Linked DNA regions of Homo sapiens: region 1 is linked to region 2. The links are contacts of gene promoters, found by promoter capture Hi-C in human tissues and cell types (Jung and others, 2019). All regions are on one chromosome and are shown on one strand. Each heading gives the region's core, a stretch centred on a gene start or on the middle of the fragment in contact. The rest is flanking DNA. Distances are from core to core; before and after follow the strand shown. Region 1 overlaps COPB2-DT (COPB2 divergent transcript). Region 2 holds the start of RBP1 (retinol binding protein 1).

Region 1 (4,226 bases), core at 537-3,036, 150 kb before region 2:
CAGCTCACTGCAACCTCCACCTCCCGGGTTCAAGCGATTCCCCTGCCTCAGTCTCCCCAGTAGCTGGGACTACGGGTGCACGCCACCACGCCTGGCTGATTTTTGTAGTTTTAGAAGAGATGGGATTTCACCATGTTGGCCAGGCTGATCTTGAACTCCTGACCCCAGGTGATCTGCCTGCGTTGCCTCCCAAAGTGCTGGGATTACAGGCTTGAGCCACCACACCCAGCCTTGTTTATTATTTTTAAATATACATGTGTTATCACTTAGCTAAGTGGTAAGTACTAGCACGAATAGGAACCTAGTTTCTCCCTTCAAAGGGGTTACAATTTATAAGCAGGAAAGGTTATTTATGCACAAATAATTGAATACCAGGCAGAATATGAGTACCTTCTGAGAGAAGTACCAGTAAAATACTCTGAAGATAAAATATCCAGCTAGGGAGATAAGTTTCATAAAGGAGGTAGAATCTGAGGTGGACTTTGAGGTGAAGAGTATACGGCATGTTTGAGAACCAAAAAAGGTCCAATTTGTTTGGAGAATGGTATTCATTTAGAAGAGCAGTGAGGGAGAAGGTTGAAGAGGAAGCTTGGGGCTAGAACCTGAAGATTTTTAAATCGGGAGAAATTGAGCTTTGAGTCAAGCAGTTGGGACTTACTGGGCCAGATAGGAAACCTGTTTATATCTGTACTCTAGATGATTTGTCTTTTGTTGATGTGTATGACACACTAAAAGAAGTTGAAACAGACTATATAAGTTTGGTGGAAGTGAGTGTGGAAATAACAGTAATAAGGAAAAATTTTTATTAAATGCCCACTATGTACCTACCTGCCATTGGAATATGTACTTTGCATACTGCAATTCATAAAGTAATACTAAAAGATAGGCATTATTTTCTCCAATTTATAGATGAAAAACAGAGGCTTAAATTGATTAAGTAGTATACCTCATGCCACATTGCTCATGACTGACAGACCTGAGATATGAACCTAAGTTATATTTAATGATACTAACATCTTTTTTTACTGGATTGTAATTTCTCCTTTTTTCCCTGAGAAGCTAGAATCAACTGGATACACAAATGCGTTTGTTGAATTGAGGGAGTGGGAGGCATCCTATTGCTGATGTTTTTAATCTAATGAACCCAGAAGAATATCTTTAATCAGAGGAAGATGTGGAGCCAGTGAATGATAGTGGAGCCAATGAAGGAACAATCAGAGAAAGAGAATCAGGAAAGAAGAAAAAGTGAAAGAAAAAGAAGTGGAGTCAGTGTAGGAACAATCAGAATAAGAGACCCAGAATAACTTTATGTCACAGAAGGAAAAGAAAGGGAAAATGTGACTGGGTGACTAGCATCTTGATAGCTTTAGAGAATTTAAGGAGGCTTAGTATTTGCCAAAACTATTGCCAATGAAATAAATGATTATGAGGACACTATCAGCCTTCAAAAAAGTTGAGTAATGGTAGGGAAGGCAAGTTTACAAAGGGTTTAGAAATTATTGGATGATAAAAAAAGTAGAGGTCATCAGTATAAACTATTTTACCAAGCGATTAGTGAAGAAAGGCAAATGTTGATGTGAGAGGTGTCTCACTGTAAGTGGGTTGACTGTTCCTGCATTTAGGGCATGCTTGATTTAATTATGATAGGCTCCAAATGGATGCAGGCCACTAAATGGACCTTTGTAGTGTGAGTAGGAACTAGCCAGGTAAATGTCAAGAGAGTATATCTAGAGCATTTGACTTTTCCAGAGAGCTAAGAATAGTTCAGCATGCCTGGGCCAGAGAGTAAGAAGGGGGAGGATTGAGAAATGGTATTAGAAAGATAAATGAGATTCAGATTCTGAAGATCCATGATAGCCAGTTAAAGGAGTCTGGACTTTATCCTGTAGGCTCTGGGGAACCATTTAAGAATGTTAAGTAGGGTAATCTTCATGCTCCATTACTGATACATCATCACATGTCAGTTACTTTTCCTGTTAGAGGAAATGTTAAGATTATCAGCCTGATTTCTGTATGAGGTGAATGAAAGCAAAAGTTTTGACCACATAGTCAAGTAGCAGCCAGCAGCAGACTAAATTGAGTTGGAGATCCACTGAACTGTCTTCCAAGAAAAATGGAGTTTGTGGTTGCCCAACACTTAGAGGCAAATGTTGGACTGATTGCAAAAGCATTGACCAACCACAATGTGCTGTACACTTCATGTGACTACCTTCTAAACATTTTAAATTTGTTAAATTTACTCCATGGGAGTTTGATGTAGAATTCCAGATGCAGAGGATGCTAACTTTTGTTTACCTGAAAGTGTAAAAATCCAGATTATTAGTAATGTGTTTGACTTGTGTTAATTTTACCTTAAAAATTACATTAACCTTATGTTTTTCTAATGAGTATTTTTAGAGGAGTCAAAGTTTAAAGTGAGCTTTGAATGAAACAAAGGAGGTGATTTCATAGATGGGAATTGCTAGACATTGTAAATATGGCAGTAGACTGGGGAGTTTGTTAGTGATCTCCACAGTTCTCCATCTGCGGATTCGTTCTCTACCCCACTCTTCACTCATGGGGTACAGACCCCATGGTAAGTCATGACCAGTGGGCTCTGGGTACTTCTTTGCCCCAGGGTTGTCAAGTGAAGTGAATCTCTGGGTCTTAGTTTTATTACCTACAAAATAATAATGGACAGCATTAGCTCCAAAGTCTCTTCCTGTTGTAAGCTTTTTTATACTTTTGAGTCTGTGATTCTATGTTCTTGTCAAACGAAGTGGATGAGGGGAGTGCCTGCAGGGTGTTTTAATGGGCATTTGTCTTTACTTAATTCAAGTGCCAGTGTAGTAGCGTTTCCCACATCTTTCATAGCATGCATTGTTCTTTTTCTCTGGAAGCCACCTTCCATCAGCAAATTTTTGTTGAGATTTTGTTGTGCTTGGAACAATGCTCTACAAACCTGAGGCTCCTGGGGCTCAGGACAAGGAGGCTGGTAGGCATGAGGGGACAAGGAATACAGGCCAAGTGTGCCTGGTATGTAGAGGTCCCAGGTGAACATTCTCTCAACCAATGTTTAACTTTCTTTCTAGGAAAAAGATTTCACAAAGTTTTATATAAGCAAGTAGATAGGTTTAGAGTAATTATGTTTCATTAAGAATTATGTCCTTGGAAATGACAGTGCTGCATATAAATAAATGAATAATAATGATGAATAGCCTGAATATCTGGCATATAGCAGTTACCTTTAAATTAATTGAAAAAAAATTTAATGTAAAAGTGAAATATCTGGAGTGACAAGGCACTGCACAGTGTGATTTTCATCAAATTGCTTTATTCCTCTTTCTTCTGAAGCATTTGTCAGTTCAAGTTGATCTAAGGGCATTACTGAATTTGAATTCAAATGTACTCCAAGTCCCAAGGTTTAAAAATGAATTCCTGGGGTTCTGAACTCATGATATGCTTTTGTATCTGAAGATGATCATCCAAAACATATTGAGTAGCACTACGACAGGATTTTTCATTTGATGTCAAAGCAACTTCACATTGATAGTGTTTGATATAGTCACTAAAATCCAAATAAAGCTATTGTCTCTAGGAAGAAGAAATTGTTTCTTTAGCTAAATATGGCCATACTTTGGTGCATCTGACACTGACAATGAATATAGATATAACTTTATCCTAAAAGGGTTTATATATAAAGTGTAACATTCACTTTATATACATACATATAGATAGACGAATAGACATAAATAAAGTCAATATCTGAAAGAAGTAGAAGATTATAAGTGATTTTATTTGTATTTTCTATTTTTCTATTATATAGTGTGTAATAAAAAAACAAAGTTATTTATTTTTTGAGATGAAGTCTCGCTCTATCACTCAGGCTGGAGTGCAGTGGCGCGATCTTGGCTCACTACAACCTCTGCCTCCCAGGTTCAAGCAATTCTCCTCCCTCAGCCTCCCGAGTAGCTGGTTCTGCAGGCGTGTGCCTCCATGCCTGGCTTGTTTTTTTTTTTTTTTTTTGTATTTTTAGTAGAGACGGGGATTCACCATATTGGCCAGGCTGCTCTCGAACTCCTGACCTTGTGATCCGCCCACCTCAGCCTCCCAAAGTGCTGAGATTAAAGGCGTGAGCCACCATGTCCAGCCAGAAACAAAGTTATTTTAAGCAAACAAAATGTACCAAAGGAGCTTGCCATTTTGAAGAAAGCTTATTTTAAATCTGCCCACAGCAAAGAAATACC
Region 2 (4,751 bases), core at 1,125-3,624:
ACATTTCTCTGCAACAATGGTGTTTTCTCCCATTAGTGGTCCTTCCAAGGCCACTCCCTGCTGACTACCCCCTCTTTCCCATCATTCCAAACAGCAGACTCAGATACCAATCCTGACTGCCTTCAGATGAATAGACAAGGTGGGGGGATGAGTCATCCAGGCTCCAGATGCCTATTCCCAGACATGGGCATCCCTTCAACTACAATCCTAACAGACCTCAGCTATCTTGTTTCTGCACAGACTACCAGCAGAGAAGCTGGCAGAAAGCAGGACTGTGGGCTTCAACATCAGAAGGCCCAGGGCTCAAGTCTCATCTCTTACAAGTCTCTTCCTCTGTCTGAGCCTCAGTCACTGCATAACATGGGGTTACTTATCCCTCCCTCACTGTGCTGTGCTGTAAGATGACTAGCACAGTGCTGGACACACAGCAGACCAGCGGTAAAGACCCTTGGTAAATGGTGGGAGGTGGTGGGTGAGGACCCCATCAATAAGCAAGGTGGCTCCTGGGATGAACATAAGCCACTTCTGAACCCAAGACTATAAAGGGAGAACAAGAGTACCTTGACCTCCCAGCAACCAGATAATGTTGATGGAGGCCTGGGGCTGGCCTTCCGGCATCTGCTGTGGCAGTACTAATTGGGATGTCCTGGGTCAGGAGTTTCCCACCCTTGTGGAAGGGAGCTCTTGGCCCTCCCTCTTCCCCCACTGCTGTTTCCTCTGGTCTGGGCTGGAGGGGCCCTGACTTACTGAATAGGTGTCAGCTGCAAAGTTCAAAGAATGCTCAGTAGGCATTGGATGACAGGGTGGGGCAGGGGATGGCCAGGAGCCAAATCCCAGCTCTGGGGCAAGGATGGGCAGATCAGGGGGCTTCCAGCAGAGATCAAGGGGCCCCCAGCTTCCTGGAGTGACTTCACACTAAGTCATACTGAAAGTTTACACTTCAAAGGGGTTACCTGTGTTTCTTTTTTCTTTCCTCCTTTCTTTTCTTTTACCCTCCACCAGCCCAGTCAGCCAGAGAACGGCATCAACAGACATGCTTTGAACTCCAGACCCTCCCTAGCTGTGCTACTCTGGACATGTTACTTCATCTCTTTGAGACTGTTTCTTCATCTGTAAAATGGGCATATTCATATCTCCCTCAAAGGCTGTGTGAGGCTTAGGTGAAGTCATGTGCATAAAGCACCGGGCAGAGTGCCTGAACGCAGTGGAGACACAGCACATGGCAGCCTTCATAACCATCACCTTCCAGTGTAGATAGAGCAGGATGCTTCATGAGTTGGTGCTGCCCACCATGGGGGCTGAGAGTGGGAAGAGTTTTCAGTCCCTCAGGCCCTTGCCCCCTCTCGGATGAACTAGCCCAGCCCTTGGTCAGGCCCCCTGGGCAGGAGACACCAGGTGGACGCGAATCCTCACCATGCACTTGCGGTCATCTATGCCTGTCAGATCCTCCTCAAACTCCTTCCCAACCTGGAAGTCCATGATGTAGTTCCTAAAAGTGCTCAGCGTGCGGATGATCATATGGTCACCGTCCTGCACGATCTCTTTGTCTGGCTTCAGCAAGTTGGCGATTTTGCGCAAGGCCACATTGACGTCTGCGGTGGGGGTTGAACGGGGAGAGAGAGAGCGCCAGAGAGTTGGCAGGGAAACTCAGAGAACCGTTCCCAAGGTAGCGGGGCCCCAGGAGCCCTCTCCGCCCGCGAACACTGTTAGGGTTCCCGCTGGCTTTGCGTTGTCTCTGCGCACAGCCTGCCTGTGCCTCCCCTGCCGCCCCCAACAAAGTTTTCTGCTCTTATGTTAACCGTTTAAAAACAAAAAGTAGCAAACCAAGCCCCAGATTTACTAATGAAATTACCCACCTCCAGGGCCAACGAGCAGACATTTGCCACCGGTTAACCTAACAACCCCGAATTCTCCAATCTGCAGCCTGGGGGCTGCCCTGGGAGCGGTGGCCGAGGACGCCCTTTCTGGCGTCCGGGGGCACCGGACCGCGGCTCGCCGGGATGGAGGCAGGCAGGCAGCGTCTCGGGAGGGCTCTAGGGAGCGGCCCGGAGCTGCTCGGCGGGGCGCCCAGGGCGCAGCGGGCAGCGCTTACCGAGGGCGCGCAGGTACTCCTCGAAATTCTCGTTGACCAACATCTTCCAGTACCCAGTGAAGTCGACTGGCATTTCGGGGAGTGACTGGAGCCAGTTGGCCACAAGCGGGCGGGACGGCTGGAGACTGCCGGGACAGCGGCTGCCGGTGCTACGCGGGTGGTGGGCGGCCCGGAAATGAGCGCCCTCCGGGGACAGGGGGCTCTGCGGGGCGGCGACAGCTGGATTCCCAGCGCGCACAAAGCCTGCGGGAGGATCCATTGTAGCGGTCGCTCCTCCCCGCTTAGCGAGGGCGGGCGCAGGGGCGGGGGATGTCGAAGGGTCAGGTTTGTCCAGGCCGCGCCACCTTCGTTTCAGACGTTCAGTTCGTTTCCCCTACAAAGGAAGAGGAGACCGGAGACGGGACGTTTGCTTTGTTGGCCGAACTCTTCGGCTGCTGGGGATTTCCTTCAAACGCCATTAACTTCTCACACTCAGCAGCCACTCGGGAGTTGGGAAACAATCTCCTGGGGTTTGTGCTGGCGTGATTAAGGAAAGAGGCCACTTACAGGCCTTTGTCTAAAGCCTCGCGCCGGTGGTGGCTGGGGTCAGGAAAGCTGGGAGGTTCAACTACGGGCGAGAAAATTGGGGCACTTTCCACGTCTCTCCCGAAAATAAAAGAAAGGATGCCGGGCACGGCGGCTCACGCCTGTAATCCCAGCACTTTGGGAGGCCGAGGCGGGCGGATCACCTGAGGTCAGGAATTCGACACCAGCCTGGGCAACACGGTAAAACCTCGTCTCTACTAAAAATACAAAAAATTAGCCGGGCGTGGTCGCGGGCGCCTGTAGTCCCAACTACTCGGGAGGCTGAGGCAGGAGAATAGCTTGAACCCGGGAGGAGGAGGTTGTAGTGAGCCGAGATCGTGCCACTACACTCCAGCCTGGGCGACAGAGTGAGACTCTGGCTCAATAAATAAATAAATAAATAAGTAAAATAGTTGATGTTATTTGAAGTGCATGTGGCTAAAAAAGCCTTCTGGGTGATTCTGATGCACAATCAACTTTGAGATCCACTGCTGCTTTATGCAAATGTAAGCAATATACTGTTTATTAATGTTTCCTCCCGTTTCACCTAATGGCAGCACTGTACTCCACGGTGTTCTGGACTTTGCTTTATTCACTTAATATATTCTGGAGACTTTTCCATAGCTGTACATAGAAAGTATCCCCATTATTTTACGGAGTATTCCATTGCTTATCCAGCTTGTCCCCTGATGGACAAACTATATTGTTTCTGATCTTTCACTATTAAAAGCAGTACTGCAATGAAAATCTTTGATCACATCTCCTTTGTCACCTGCGTGGGTATGTCATTGTGGTTTAACTGCATTTGCCACCAAGTAGATGACATAATCACATGGGCTGACTTTTTGACCCTCTTTTTGACTACCTCTTTTAAATCGCTTTTTGCACAAATCACAGCCTAAGTGACAGCAGATAACATTTTCTTCCCCTCTAGCACCACCTTCCCCAGGGTGCCTCCCTGGGGCTCACATGTGTTCTCACAGTGCAGGCTGAATTAGGAAAAGGAGCCTCTTCCTCAGGGTAGAGACAGCTTCCTCCCAGGCAGCAACTTGGATTTCAGCGCTTCTCACCCTCTTTCCCTAGACTAGGATTTGTTTCTTAATCTCTGTGCTACTGACATTCTAGGCCACATAAGTCTTTGTTACAGGAGCCTGTCCTGTGTACTGTAGGATATTTAGTGGCATCCCTGGCCTCTACCCATTAGATCCCAGTGGCACCCAGACACAAAGATGTCGCCAGACATTGTCAAAGGCACTGGGGTGTGGGTGCTGGGTAAACCAGCCCTGGTTGAGAGCCAGCTCTAGGCCCTTGTTTCCCACTGCTTCTTTGTCTGGCTCTGGATGGTTAGGTCATCAGTTGTTCACACAAGCACTGGCTCTGTGTCCCTCCCTAGCCAGCCCAGGGCTCATCTTGGCTGGGCACTCAGGGCAACCTATCCCAGTCCTTCCAACCTGAAGGTGCAATAAGACACCTCGCAAGGATGGATGGGGCCTGGCCCAGGTTCTGTAAGGCATCCCACCAGGGCCAGCCATGCTTTGGGCTTTCTTGTTATCCTGACTTACCAGAATGGAGCATTGGTCAAAGGCTTAAGCAGTGAACTGGCCATTCCTTGGTCACTTCCAACTAGTCTAAACTCTTCTCCCTGCTCTCTGATGCCTCCAGCCCAGCTAGCCGGATTTCTCATCCTCCCCAAACTTCTCCCTTTATGCTGAATCACCTGAGATGGTTTATGCCAAATGCTCAGCACAGTGCCTGGCACACAGCAGAGGCCAGTCTGTTCTGACTCCCTGCCATGCTTGGAATGGCCCTTTCGTGCTCGAGGCAGAGGCCTGCCCACCTCTCCAGTCCTTCTTGTCCATCCCAAAGAACCACAAGCTTGCCACTCCTCCCTCTTCTGACCACGTTGGATAACTTCTGCTCACCTGATCTCACTTTTCTGACCTGGTCAGCTGAACATATAGCACTTAATTCAGCTAGTTTCACTCAGTTTCTGTCTGTCCACCTCTTTGTCTAGTCTTCCAAATGGGTCAGTACGCTCCTGCCCTTCTGGGTCTCCTCCCAGGCACAGCCCCTGGTGGCTGTGCTATTTCTTGCA

What was found. Contacts are between HindIII fragments. The study calls those that stand out against the background at their distance.
Region 1: a contact is called between a fragment that was not itself captured here and the fragment with the promoter of RBP1 in region 2, in 1 of the 25 tissues and cell types used here (H1 embryonic stem cells).

Annotation. Positions count from the first base shown.
Region 1 is chr3:139,392,313-139,396,538 of GRCh38, forward strand. All of the region lies in intron 1 of COPB2-DT (COPB2 divergent transcript), which reads left to right. Among named protein-coding and RNA genes, the nearest start is that of COPB2-DT, 4.6 kb to the left of the region's middle. The HindIII fragment of the contact is 3,330 bases long and covers 122-3,451 here.
Region 2 is chr3:139,537,368-139,542,118 of GRCh38, forward strand. RBP1 (retinol binding protein 1) reads right to left here and starts at 2,375. Exons shown (of 4, transcript NM_002899.5): 1 at 2,093-2,375; 2 at 1,414-1,592. The coding sequence starts at 2,351. The region is part of intron 3 of COPB2-DT (COPB2 divergent transcript); the gene reads left to right. RefSeq lists an enhancer at 251-1,450. The HindIII fragment of the contact is 8,428 bases long and covers 1-4,751 here.